Linked DNA regions of Homo sapiens: region 1 is linked to region 2. Evidence: promoter capture Hi-C in 16 types of primary human blood cells and fetal thymus (Javierre and others, 2016). All regions are on one chromosome and are shown on one strand. The core of a region is centred on a gene start or on the middle of the fragment in contact, and the rest is flanking DNA. Distances in the headings are between cores, read along the strand shown. Region 1 has its middle 240 kb from the start of LINC02388. Region 2 holds the start of LRIG3 (leucine rich repeats and immunoglobulin like domains 3).

Region 1 (6,921 bases), core at 753-3,252, 380 kb before region 2:
GCCTGATTTGTTAAACTTCATTTACTCATTCACCAAATGTTGACTAAGTTTCTACTATGTGTAGAACATTGTAATAAGTTTTATAGGGCATAGGTAGATGAATAAACAAAGGTCATTGCCATCAAGAATCTAATAATATAACACATTTTCTAAGTGCTTTGACCTCCCAGTCCATCTCTCTGGTTCTCTTGCTTCCTTCCTCTCTCTTTCCAGACTGAGTCTTTAGCATCATTATACAACTTCTTTTCCCTGAAAGGTCCAAAAGCTTTAAATAATGTAACTTTTTTTCTCATCAAAATGTTTGGGCTCCCAATGTAATCCACATCCCTGCCTCTAGGTACTACTATACTCCTAGAGAACTGGCGTATACATTTATAAAGGCCCATTGTTAGAAGAAATTTACTTTGACAATAAGCAGCCCCAATCTTTATAGGCATGTTTCAGAGCAAAGCTCACTCATTTTGTCTCCTACAAGAGCTCCTCATCATCACCACCTGGGTTGTAATTGAAAGTTTAGGTGTGTTTTGCAGTCATTTTCCTTGGCATGAAGCCAGCAGGGAATGTCCTCCAATAATATAAATGCAACGTGGGTGTGGCACAGCCCATATTTTTAATCTCAAAAGGAGTGTTTATTGTTAACATTTGGGAGGATGGAGGATAGGGAATTAATTCTTTGTGTTTCTCTTTCTTGGGTATTTTCTTAGCTACAGGAGCCATGAAAGGCTCTTGCTGTGACCAAAAACCAATTATAAATCTGTTTAGGAATTCATTTTTCATCTATTCCTAGCCCCACATTCCCTGAATCCCCACACTAGTTTAGGATTCATGACCATCCCTTTCTGAGGACCTCCTGCCTCGGCCACAAGTACTATGGGGAACACTCACAGCTTCTTCATGAAGGATTATTTAGAGCTCTAATGCCTGTGAAAGGAATAGTTTTACTTAATTCTTGGTCATGCAGGGAGTGGGCCTATAGTTTTAGGGCTTTGAAGAAGAGTCTACTGGGTGAATGTCCTCTCTCCTCAATCACCACCTTCTTTACACATATCTTTTTATACGGCCTGCAGTCAAATACTTCAAACCCTCACCTGGGAAACTCAACTATATTCAACAGTAGGAGAAAGTCCACTGGCCTGCCTACCTCCAGCCATGGTTGTTTGCCTCTCCTAAATCAGTGCTAATTCCAGAAAGAGGGGTGGGGCTCTGCCTCCCTGAGAGAGCCAAGGGCATATCCAGCTTTTGTGTGGTCAGGAGTATATACAGTTTTGAGGCTCCCTCTTTGTTCTAGAAAAAGAAGACAAAATTATGAATTAAAAATTAGGTAAATGATTGAACGATAAAAGAATTCTCAATTAATTACTAGAGTCTTGGTGGCCCAGCAATTCTTTAGATCTTTTTAAAGCAATTTACCAAAATGCTTACATCAAAATGCTCTCTGATTGCCACCTGGCTTCTCCTTACCACCTAGAATGCTTCACACTTCCTAGCACCTCACAGCCCTCATGAGACTCTGAGCAGGTGCAGGGACCTGAGGCAGAAGCTTCCTTAACTTTAGGGTGAAATATTCCAATTGTTTCCTGTTCTCATCAGCCAGGGGCAAGAGGCTGATTCATGCTGGTTTATTTACAAGGTGGTACCTCTAGCTGAAGTGAGGACTTCTTTCTGTTAGAGATACATGGCCTTCTCTCATATGAAGAAAGACTATTTCTGTTCTTAACAGAACTCTGATTTTTACCACTTCTTAGTTATAAGTCTCCGCATTATCCTGTTCCTCCCTGGTTCTGGCTTAGATTACAAGAGCTTGTATTTATTTTAAATGTCTTCCACTGCCACACAGATGGAGAAACATCAACTCTTGGTTCCAAATTTACCCCTTAAAAGAAGAATGTTCCAGTTCTTCCTGCCATATGTGTGCCGCTGACTCAGAGAGCAAGAATGTGGTGGGAAAACAGACTGTGTTTACAGATGTCTTCTGCATGGCCTGTGCATCTCATAGACACACTGGCAACACATACCAGCACACACATGCCGTCTACGTGCTCTGAAATGACTTCCAGGGTGTGAGAATGGACACACATTGGTGTGTATTGAATGCAGTGGGACTTTATCCTGGCCGAGGAAATTCTGTAAACACCTAATGGTGGAAAACACCGACTTTAAAATAGTTTAAAACTATAATTGTTTGTAAACCCTGGTAAAGCTAGAGCTGGTTCTCTTTAAATGAGGCAAGAGTGTAACATCCAAGATTCATTCCACGCCAAAATTCTCTGGAGCATGAGTGATGGTAAGAAAGGCTATTAGGTTAACAAGAACATCAAATGGATAGAATAATCTTATTTCTCTCTCTCAGTGGAGGTTCTGTTTTGAATCTGCTGGAGTCTAATAATTAGTTGGTGTTGCTCTGAATTGTATCTGACATGTCTCTTCATGTTAGCTTTGCTGCATCTTATGCTTTAGGCTTTTGCAAGCTTCTCTGGATTAACGGATGGGGAGGGAGAATAAAAGGGTACTACCCATGGTGCCCAGAAGCAAAAGGAAAGCAAGTGAGAAGAAGGTGCATGTGGATGGAATTCCGAGAAGGGCCCACGCCATTCAGACTTAAGAACTGCTAAGTCCCAAAGGAGATACTTCTAGCATCTAGCAGGCATCTGGTAACCTAACCTCTCTGTATCGCACATCCACCCAACCCACCTTTCCACTGGGAGTGTCAAAGTATGTAATGAAGCTCCCTGTCTTCCGTAAAGAAGTATCCTGCTTAGTATATGTAAACACAACACCTTGATCTTTTTTGTTTTGGAAAATAAAAACAAAACAAAATATCCAAAATAAACCAGAGATTTCTTTAAAAAGAAACGCACGCAAATAAAAACAACAACAAAAGACACTTTGAGTTTGTACTCCTGATGGAAAAATCATTACTGTGGACAAAGTTATGAGAAGTCAAAGTATAGTTTGTTTTTAATAAGAGCTATCATTACATTCATGCTCAGGATGTGGCACTCAGAGTACTACGTATGTGTCACCACAGCTAAGATAGGTACTGTTACTCCAGGTAAGTAGAGTTCCCCCAAAATTCATGCCTACCTGGTACCTCAGAATGTGACCTTATTTGGAAGTAGGGTCTTTGCAGGTGTAATCCAGTTAAGATGAGGTCATACTGGATTAGGGTGGACCCTAATCCAAGGATAAATGTCCTTCTAAGAAGAAGGTAGTGGGATACAGACACAGAGAGAAAACATCACGTGAAGACAGAGACATAGAAGAGAAGGCCATGTGATGGTGAAGGCGGAGATGGGAGTGATGCATCTGCAGGTTAAGGAAGGCCAAGAATTGCTGGCATTTCCAGAAGCTAGAGGAGGCCAGGAAGGATCCTCTCCCAGAGGCTTTAGAGAGAGCATGACCCTGAGAACACCTTCGTTTTAGACTTCTGGCTTCCGGAACTGTGACAGAATAAATTTCTATTGTTATAAGTCACTGGGTATGTGGTAATTGGTTATGGTAGCCCCGAAGAAGTAACATACAGATGAAGAATCTGTGCTTCTGATGGTCTTGCTGAAGCTCCTTGTGCAGGGGACGTGGTGAGCTGGCTACACACACAGCCTTCCACCTCGGCAGGGAAACTGCACAGTGAGGAGCACAGGGGCAGTCACAGCCAGTTCCTGGGCTCATAATCGACGACATTGGTCTTGTCCATTTGGACAGATCCACAGGATTCTAGAGAGAGGTTAAGAATGAAAGTGTAATGGTGATCATAAACCGCAGGAACAAAATGTATATACCTATTTATTTTTATTCTCACTTCATCCTAAAAAGGATTTAAAGTTCCTTTCATAGATGAAAATAATAGGACAAAATAAAATAAATTTAAACATAAGAAAGATGAAACAAAGGGAAGAAAAACAATGGTGGAATGCAGCAGTAATAAACCTACATGACGTCACAGCCCTTCCTTCACCTCCCCAGCCCCAGCTAAGAAGATGGACCCTCATGGTATGGGCAAGAAATTTCAGGATGAGATAATGCCAAGTCTGATTTTTCTCCAATTTGTGTAAATTCAACGGAAATTTCAGGCTGCTGCTTCGAGTAGAAATAAGCTCTAATTATCCTTTTGATTTTCATATCATTTTCAATAAGTCAGCAGTGCTATTGCGGTCAATCAACCGGAAATCAGGGAAAGAAATCTCACATTTTCTGTGCCTTCCTTATTGTTTTAAGCGTGCTTCTGAAATGCTTTAAAATCATTGTCTTCAGAGTGTTTGTTAGTGCAGAGAAAAAAGGAGAGGATCTGGAATGGTTAAGCATACTGTTGTCTGTGATTTATCAAACCACACACGCAGACTTACTATTGAAGGAGAGACAATACCATCTAAACCAGCATGGGAGTTATTGTTTGATTTGATACTGAGCTTTTCTGTGTTTATTGGTCATCTTTGGTCTCATGAAAAATTTATTCTATGTCTAAGGGAGCTCCAATATAAATAAACACTAGAAATACATTTGTAGGAGGCTGTTCTCTAGAATAACTCAGTATTGCTCTCTGCATGGGGCATCACCTGCTGAATAAACCCAAAACCATCATCTGGGGAGTCGCTCTAGGTAAACTTCCTTGAGGTAAGCTGTGCTGTAGAGATAGGAACCTCTAATCATGTTTCAAATACTAAACATACCAGTGTGCTTTTCTTTTAAAAAGAGGAATCCTATTCACTTGACTTTATTTGTTTTTGAAAAAAAAAATGAACCCTTTATTTGGAGAATATTTTAGAAATTTAGGGCAAGGAAAATATTCTGCTCCTAGATGAGTGCTTTTGCTTGTATGATCCTGCACTGACAGTGAACAATACAGTAGATGAATTACTGATTTATTTATTTAAAAGCGAATGCACTGGATTTAAAAACAGCTTGCCTACAACAAAGAAATATGCCCCTTAAGGTTATTTAGTCCATTTATTGCTGATACTAATTAAACAATGACCTAGGCTTTTCACAGAGTGATTACTCTTAATGAAAAATTAACTATGGTCTCCTAATAAAGATAGCACACAAAACAAGTTGTACAGAGTGGTGTGACCTGACCTAGGATATCGCGTGTAAGTGCGACAGCTCCTGTAGATGGCAGTGGAGCACTTCCGCAAATGCTTTGGCCTGGCGTTCTGGGCCTGGGGTTGAGGGATGCAAAGGATAAAAGCTGCAGCAAGAGCAGGCGTGCCCTCCAGCCAGCAAGTTAACTAAGCTGCTGGTTCACTACTGCACTTCATAGTTGCCCTCTAAATGATTTTTTTCTGAACTCAGCAAAAGTACAAAGTGTTCCTGCCTGCACCCCAAATTGTCCTTTTAGTGAGGTAGGTTTTTATGTTTTATGCTTTCTATTTTTTGAATTTCAGAGTTATTTTGGAGATCTGACCTAAACATTCCTCTTCTTGAATTGCAAAAGCAATTAGCTTAGCTGCTCACACTCTTAAAGAGAGAATAAAAATCTCCTAAATGGAGACAATCGTAAACTACATCTGTCATACAAGTCAATGCAGCACAATCCAAAATAAAGATCTGTCAGCATAAACTATAACCAGATTTCATAGTCCTTAACTTTTTCTCTTGCTTGGATTGTTTTCCTTCTTTCCTTTTCTCTTAAGCCTTTTATTAAAAACTGTCCTCCGCTATGCTCACAGGAGCTACATGACTGAAATTGGAAAAGCAATCTAGCAATCACAGATTTAGGTAATTTTTAATGAAATTAAGATATTATATCGATTATTTTTGTCATTGTTTTGGCCTTTGAAGCTCAATCAGCGTTATATTCTATTATAGAGGAATGGTTGTTCTGAAAGAATTTGTGGAGTTGTGCCTGTCATTTCAGGATGAATTTCCTCGCTCAGCTCCCCCAAATTTCCCATTCTTTCAGCAGCAAGAGGGAACACTGCATGCACAGTGTTAACTTCACACATTCCTGACATACTTGCTACATTAACAGAGCTATGTTCCAGGGAATTGAAATATCTATTGTAACTGTAGGAAGGGCTTTCTTCCCATAACTTTTACCTTGTACCCAGAAAATGTATGTCAAGAATCAAGAAATGGCAAGTTTAGATATGGATGATGCATAGGAATCTGTTGTTGATATAGTTGGTATGGAAATTGTATAGGCAGAATTCTGCACACAGTAGGAATCATTTTGTTGAATAAATGAAAGCTAAAATGGAAGTAAAAATTAGAATAAACCCAGGGCAGAAGAAACAGTGACTAGTTTTCTGAAAGCTCAGGAAAATATCAAAAATATTTGAAAAAAAATGGAAATTTAAACCTTAGGAGGCCAAAAAGGTCCTGGGCTTATGCTCTTAGGTATAGGAAGAGGGCTAAAGAGGTGAGCAAAGAACATGAGAAGATATTGGCAAGTGCTATGGCTCATGCCTGTAATCCTAGTGACTCAGGAGACTGAGGCTGGAGGATCACTTGAGACCAGGAGTTTGAGACCACCCTGGACAGCATAGTGAGACCCCACCTCTAAAATAATAATAATAATAATAACAATAATAATAATAATAATAATAATAATAATAAAAGTAGCCATGTGTGGCTGATTCCTGTAATTCCAGACACTGGCCTCTAGCCTGGACAAAGAATGTGATTCTCTCACAAAAAGAAAAAAAAAAAAGATATGTTTGAAAAGATGAAGGGAAGGGCATGTCAATATGCATCAGAGGAGATTAGCAAAGAGCTAATGACCTGGTGCTACACTGAGTGGTTAAAAGAAGATTAGGGAAGGGAATCTGGAAATTATGGAAGACAGGATGCAATTACACAACCAAAAATGAGGCCCAGAGGAGAGAAGGATCAAGAGATACAAGGGTGGGGAATGGTGTGTAACTTCATCAATTAGGTATCATAGCAGGTCTTCTATCGTAAAGCCAATGCTTTCTTTTCAAG
Region 2 (7,302 bases), core at 1,391-3,890:
ATTTTTCTAATTACGAAAAACTTTAGTAGCTTTTTAGACCACCTATTCTAAAATACCAAATAACAGAGAAAGTAAAACTCAATTCCACGTGTTTTTCTGCTCCTTTCAAAAGTGGAAAGAGGAGACCTCTAGAGCTTTAGGTACAAACAAAAGAAATATTTACAATAAAGAATCCAGACCACATGGTTTGGTGACACCTACAAAGATGGTTAAAAGTCACAGAAGTACAGGAATGACAGAGCTGTCCAATAAGTGATCACAGCAGGGTTCCTGACAACAGACTGAGTGCTTATTTATACAAGTGGAACTTATTTTCACATACATTTAAGGAATGTGGGCTAGTATTGAGACAATTTACTGCTGGTGGAAATGTAATTAAAGACTGTGCTAACCAAATAAACTCTAATTTGTTTTTAGTGTGCCACCAAATTATCTGCAAAACAAAATCCTAATTAGGTCAGCTACTTTTAAGACAATGTTTAAATAGGTATCGAACCCCTTTTGGTTCAACTCAACTTCTGATCAAGGGCAACACAGATTTTTTTTCTAAACATCTAAATCCAGGAAAAAAGAAAAAAAGTACTGCACACTAGCATGATCACAATAGACAACTTGACATTGAAAAACTATCGAATACAAGTTAGATGCCGTGAATAATCTAAGCATATCTAAATACACTCCAGGAAGCACTGTATTCATTTTCTCTTTCTCATCCCTCTATTATTCCTAAGTGTTCACCTCCAGTCATTTACATGTTCAGTTCCATATGTTGTCAATAGAGCCATTCACTCATGAATAAGGCAGCATGACCTCCACAAGAGGCAATTTAACAGAATTAGCCACAACTAATTGAAAGTCTCCCTGCTTTCGGTTAAAGACCTTATCTCCTCTTCCAATTGCAATAAAAACTACTAAATAAAACGTCCCAAGAAATTAAATATCAATCCAATACTAATTCTACTTTATTAAACTAAGGCTTATTAAAAACACAAGGAATATACTTTCTGATGGCCAACAATTCTACATTCACAAAAGTTATTTAGATTAGCACAATAATTTTAAAATATAAATTCTTAAACACCTGACCAAACCTCCTACCACATTAGGGCATTGGAATAGTTCACTAGAATTGTTTTAAAAACTTAAAATTTTCATTGCAATTCTGCTAAGTCAAAATATAAGATTACGTATGAAGTGCACTTTTATTTTAAACAGAACAACTACTTTAAAAAATACAAATTTTGATTGTTTACTTTTTACAGCACTCCAATTTTAAAACTGGGACTGAGGAAGAAAAGAGATGACATTTGGAAAAGATCAGCATTTCCAACTAAATTACATTTTCTTCCTTGTTCTTCACGCAGTTGGCAGTGATTTCAGGTTTTCAGACTTCGCAGCTAAAAATCCAAAAACTTGCATAAGAGCTCCCTGCGCTCTCCCCTAAACCGTCTGGGCGTTCTGAGGAGCTACAGAAATCACGCCCTTGATTCTGGATAATCGAGTTCCGCCCTTTCCATAGCTACCGACCAGTCTTTACAATCTGGTTGAGGAGTGGGAACTTACGGTCTGCTAATGTGAAAAAGCAAGCAGAGGGAGAACAACAGAAGTACGTCCACCATAACTTGGAGAATGACCGAATTCTGTTGAGGGGGCTTCCCAAATGAAAAGCCTGACTTCAGTTACTGGGTGGGAACAGGAAAAGGAGTCTGACGCAGCTAGAAACTAAAACTGAACCAGACTCATAACTCAGCGAGAACTGCAAACTCCTGATGTGTGCAGGTTGCCGCTTATCTCCCCTGGGCCTGGCAGGAGCAAGCATTTGAACCCCTTGGCTAGCTTAGGGCGCAGGACTTCATCCCCAATCTCTGGCGTCGTTACTGGCCCCCAACCCTGGTCTACCTGCAGCCAGTTAGGACGCGCCAAGAGCCCACCTGCGCCGCCCGCAAAGCACGTGGGAGGGAAACTGAGGCCCGGACAGTTCTTTTTCCACGCCCACGGAGCGCCGATCGCGGCCTGGGCCAGAAGGAGCTATACGGCAAAAAGGGGACTGCACGCCGAACCCCATTCCCCGCCGGCTCCTGTTTTCTCGAATCTCCAGCGGCCCGGGCCCCCTCCCCCCGCGGGAAGAATACTTACAGCCGAGCGACCCAGGACGGGAGTGGCTCGGGAAGACGCGCTAGCCGCTTACGACTGCAGTCCAGCAGGTCCCCGAGGCAGCGGCAGGTAGTGGGGCATGGGCGCTCGGCGGCTACCCCAGAGGGCTGCCCGAGTTCCCCGCGACCGCCGCTGTCTGACCGGCCAGCGCGCCCCAGCACCGCGCACAGCAGCAGCCCCAACCCCGCGGCGCGCGCACGGAGGCTCGGCGCGCTCATCGCGGTCCAGCGGCCTAGGTCTCTACCCGAAGCTCCCAGCCGGCGCGCGCTCGGGGCCCGGCACAAACTTCCAGCCGAGGGTGCACGCCCGCCCTCGCGGTCGCGTGCGCGCTCCTCCCTCGCGCTGCCCGGTCAATTCCTTCTTTTACTCCCGGCGGCGAAGCCCTTTCATGCCCCCAAACAGCAGGAGGGAAACCGAAAAGAACTGCCAACTGCAACAGAGTTGCAGCTTGAGCAGCGTCGGCTCGCCGAAGCCCCTTCTTGTCTGCAAAAGAAACTTTTTCGCCTCCACCCCGCGGCACTGCGCCAAGTCCCCGCGCGGCGGAGTAGCAAGGCGGGCGGGTAGAGGCCGACGCGCGCCCATTGGCCGACTCGGCTGCGGGCGTCCCCGTGGCCACGTGACAATAACACCGCTCCAGCCGGGGGCCTACGCGCGGGAGAAAGTGGAGCTGAGATTGTAGGAAATTCAGAGTTATATTTTCCAGCCTCTCCAGCCAGAAGTCTCCACTACGTCGTGGGAAACATATATCAAATGGAGTTGAAAGGCAAAAGGAAGTGAGCAAATACTGGGCTAGTTCTCGGAGTTGGAGGTATTTAGGAGAACTTCAGGGAAGTAAAGTTTAATTAGCAGTGTTTTCAGGAAACTTTTCAATTCCAAATTAAAGACACTGATAAATTATCCTACCATCCACAGATGAAAGAGTGGTTTCAATGAAAACAGCTCTTTCAACGTTAATGCTGGTGGGTGTTCCCCCATACATCGGCTTCAAAAGTAAAAACAATAATAAAACGTAAAACTCGTGGTTTTGGAAAGTGTATATTGAATTACAAATAGCCAGCCTTCGTGCACTGGATAAAGCTGGGCGGGGTGGGGGATGGGAGATGACCTTCTAATAGACCTCGATGGCAATCATAGATTCCTGGTAATAGTAATAATAAAAGTAGTCACAGTGACATTTCAAAGTAAAATGAAAACTAAGACCTTGGAGGAAAAAATTAGTATATGCACCTTGGTCCACTTGCGCTTTGAGTAATGACACATGTTGATTGAGAATGCTACCAGGGTAAAAGTACCTCCCGGCCTCCTCAGCTGGGGGAGTGGATGTTTGGGGCTGGATTCAGGCTACAGGACTTCCCAGTGAAGTTTGTTCCTTAACTTACAGGTGATCAGCGCCACAAGATGTTGAAACTAATGGAGACCGCAGAGATCATGTGCTAAGGGGCCTTCCTCCTCTGGGTAAGGAAATAGACCTAGAGAACGTAACTAATGTGTTTGTTGCAAAAAAAATAAAAATAAAAGCAAGACAGAAAACATGAACAAACCAAAAAACAAACCCTGGAAGCTTAAAGTAAGTTTTCACTTCTATACATTGTTTATTGCATGCTGTCTGCCCAAGCTTGTCTGTCCTTGGAGTTGCGTAAACTGCTCATGATTGAGGAGTGGAGATAGCTTGTGGAGTTGAGACTTTAACCCTGACTCTAAGGCCCATTGATTTTTCACTGTAGCAAATCACTCCCACTTACGGGGGAAGGAAAAGACTCACTTTGAAGTTAACACACCCTATTTTAGATATGGTATCCCATTTTCTTATTTCCAGCTACCATTAACAACAACGCTACTACCTTTTTGGATGATGTATAATTATAATTAGAAAATATCTATAATGATGGCACCTTGGTTTTGAATTTATGATTTTGTCTGCTTGGGAGTAGACAAAACACACTACAGTCATAGTAAGGATTTTCCAGCTCAGTATCCCCCATCTATTTTTATTTATTTTTTTTATTTTTTTATTTTTGAGATGGAGACACTCCAGTCTGTCACCCAGGCTGGAGTGGGGTGCAGTGATGCGATGTCGGCTCGCTGCAACCTCTACCCCCTGGGTTCAAGCAATTATCCTGCTTCAGCCTCCCAAGTAGCTGGGATTACAGGTGCCCACCACCACACCCGGCTAATTTTTTTGTATTTTTAGTGGAGACAGGGTTTCACCATGTTGGCCAAGCTGGTTTCTAACTCCTGACCTCAGGCTATCCGCCCGCTTTGGCCTCCCAAAGTGTTGGGATTACAGGCGTGAGCCACCACACCCGGCCCCCCATCTATTTCATACAAGGAAAATTAGGTATAATTCATTGAAGTTTTTAAAAAGAAGAAAGATTCCATTGTACACATGCCATTATGCATAAGCAAGGTAACATCAGTATGGAGGCTTGCTCTTGAGACATGAGACATATGACAGGGATATAAATGTGCTACCATTTTGGGGAGTTTTGGCTCATTTCCTTTTCTCATTCTTTATTCTCCTTGTATAATTTCATCTTCTTCCATGAATTCCATTTACATTTACATGCTGACATATACAACATCCATATTTCAGCCCAGGTCTTTTTCCTAAACTCGAAATCCATATGTGCAATTACCCACAGGTCATTAAAAATTGGATGTTCAAATGTAACATGTCTAGAATTAAATTTCACCACCCTTGAAACTGACTTGTTTCCTCCTGAATTCACTGTCTTAAAGAGTGGATACTTCCCTCCATCCAGATGAATGCCCCAGAAACCTGAAAGTCACCTTAACATTACTTCATTCTCACCACCACCACCACCACCACCAGAGTCAATCAATTAGCAAGTCATGTTAAAGCTAGCTCCTAAATGTATCTTCTCTCTGTAGAAATTATGCAAATCCAGACCACCAGCAGCTCTTGCCACCTATCAGGCATTCCACTGCTTTCTCCTCAGGGCAGTTAAGTGATATCTCTGAAGGTCAAATCTGAGCCTGTGACTCAACTGACCAGTTCTTTTCTTGGGTTCCTAGTGTCTTGAGAATAAGGTTCAAATTCTTTAGAGTGACTTATACAGTTTTGTTTGTTTGTTTTGGCATTGAGCCTCTATTTATCTCTTTAATTCATTGTCTTTCATCATTTTTCTCCTACTCTAGGAGCTACTTGCAATTCTCTTCCCAGCTGTACTCTTGCCTTCAGCCCTCTTGCAAATGGTTCTTCTGTCCAAATCATTCTCTGCTCCTTCTTCTGCCTGGTTGATGGCATTCCTTCTTTGGCAAACACTTCCCTGAGTCAGGTTTAACTATCTATACCTCCAGTATACTTCCAGCACATCAGTATTGACTGGAATGTAATAGACCATTTTCACTCTAACCCCCAGGTAATACTACAGAATTTTCCGATAACCATGTATTCCTTATCGCCTTTAAGGGTTTTACCAGCTATTGTGAAGTTAAATTACCTAAGTTTTCAGTACCCCAGTTTCTCAGTCTGTAAATTGGGAATACAATAAAAAACGATCTTATCTGGCTGGCTTCCATTTATCAGTTACTGGATTAGCAGTCACTCTGTTCTCTCTGTACAACCTGACTGATGCCTATGACCAGCTGAAATCTAGAAACTACCAGCCTCTCCTTAGAACAGCCTTTGCATATTTGCTCCTACCTGTCAGGTGCTGATCCACAGTAGTTACAGACTTGTTTATATATATTATTAATGTTACACAATATTGTGTAAACCAAATACAAGTGCAACAAGAAAATACCTTTATTTCTATGATAATGAATTTGAAGGTTGGGAAAGATTCTTTAAAGGTAATCGATAAAACAATGCTATCCAATTAGATGAAGATAAGACAGTTGTAAATATGGGAGGAGGAGATTACAAATATCTAGGAGATTTTTTTGGAAAGGTTACTTTGCAAGTAAGATCTTGTTCCACTTTAATTGTATTTGGGAATTAATCAACAGAGGACGTTTTATGGGTGTGGCTTAAGCTTACTCAGAACTTAATGGGATCATTGAGAGAGTAAAAGAGGATGACATGGAAAGAATACAGCGCACATTAAAAATCACTGTTCTACATTTCGATATGTGCTTAACCATGTGGTCAATACAAAGGGGAACTAGTCCTACATGAAAACTTAATTTTTTTATTTTTATTTTTTTGAGACAGGGTCTCACTCTGTCACCTAGGCTGAAATGCAGTGGCGGGATATTGGCTCACTGCAGCCTCAACTTCCTGGGCTCAGGCGATCCTCCCACTTCAGCCTCCTGAATAGCTGGGACCACAGGCGCATGCCACCATACCAGTCTAATTTTTGTATTTTTAATATATGTATATATAGATATATATATATATAGAGAGAGAGAGATGGCGTTTAACCATGTTGTCCAGTCTGGTCTCGAACTCCTGGGCTCAAGAAATCCATCTACTCGTTTCGGCATCCCAAAGTGCTGGAATTACAGGCATGAGCCACCTGCCTGGCTGAAACTTTACATCAATGTAATATTTTCACAGGCTTCTCAAACCTTTCATGAACCACAGGGCAGAGAGAACTTCCACTGGGTATCCATCTGGGCAGATGAGAACTAATATCTTTTGAGGTCCCTTACAGCTCTGTTCTGATTCCTTTACAGTATATAGAAAATAGGCGTGAAGGCAGAGTGACAGCAAAGATAGTTGTAATAGAGGAAGAAGAGGTACATAAAATTCTGTTTAATCTCCCAAAATGTATCAGGGAATAACAGTGACCTAGAAACAGGATTAATGTATCACTGAATTCTCTGATACTCTTATGATGTCATTTTCTTGTATACACACACACACACACACACACACACACACACAGAGGACACAGTGCTATCAAATGTTGAATCTCAGTTTTTGTGGATAATGGCTTACAAATAAGAATTTAGTATGAGAAAGTCAAATTCATTTTGACCAGAGGTCTTTTAACATTTGAAATAAAATGAGATAAGATGTTGGATTTCTCTACTCCTTCAGAGGTTTACACTGGTTAACCAGGTAGTTGGAAGTTAGCTTTCCATTGGAAATTGCTGAGATCACACCAGACAGTTTCTCGTTTCCAGCTGTGTCCCAGTGAATGGCAAGTTTCATCCATTTTCAAAAGGGTCTCCTACCAC

What was found. Contacts are between HindIII fragments. The CHiCAGO score rates a contact against its expected background, and 5 or more counts as called.
Region 1: a fragment that was not itself captured here is called in contact with the fragment with the promoter of LRIG3 in region 2 in 1 of 17 cell types (endothelial precursors); the score reaches 5.3 in endothelial precursors.

What each region holds. Positions count from the first base shown.
Region 1 is chr12:58,535,561-58,542,481 of GRCh38, forward strand. No RefSeq gene overlaps it. Among named protein-coding and RNA genes, the nearest start is that of LINC02388, 240 kb to the right of the region's middle. RefSeq lists enhancers at 4,986-5,280, 5,010-5,179. The HindIII fragment of the contact is 928 bases long and covers 1,539-2,466 here.
Region 2 is chr12:58,917,864-58,925,165 of GRCh38, forward strand. LRIG3 (leucine rich repeats and immunoglobulin like domains 3) reads right to left here and starts at 2,641. Exons shown (of 19, transcript NM_153377.5): 1 at 2,137-2,641. The coding sequence starts at 2,372. LRIG3-DT (LRIG3 divergent transcript) reads left to right here and starts at 2,841. Exons shown (of 6, transcript NR_183518.1): 1 at 2,841-2,927; 2 at 3,536-3,609. RefSeq lists enhancers at 1,538-1,807, 7,181-7,302 and silencers at 2,188-2,267, 2,688-2,797, 3,416-3,525. The HindIII fragment of the contact is 6,290 bases long and covers 1-3,713 here.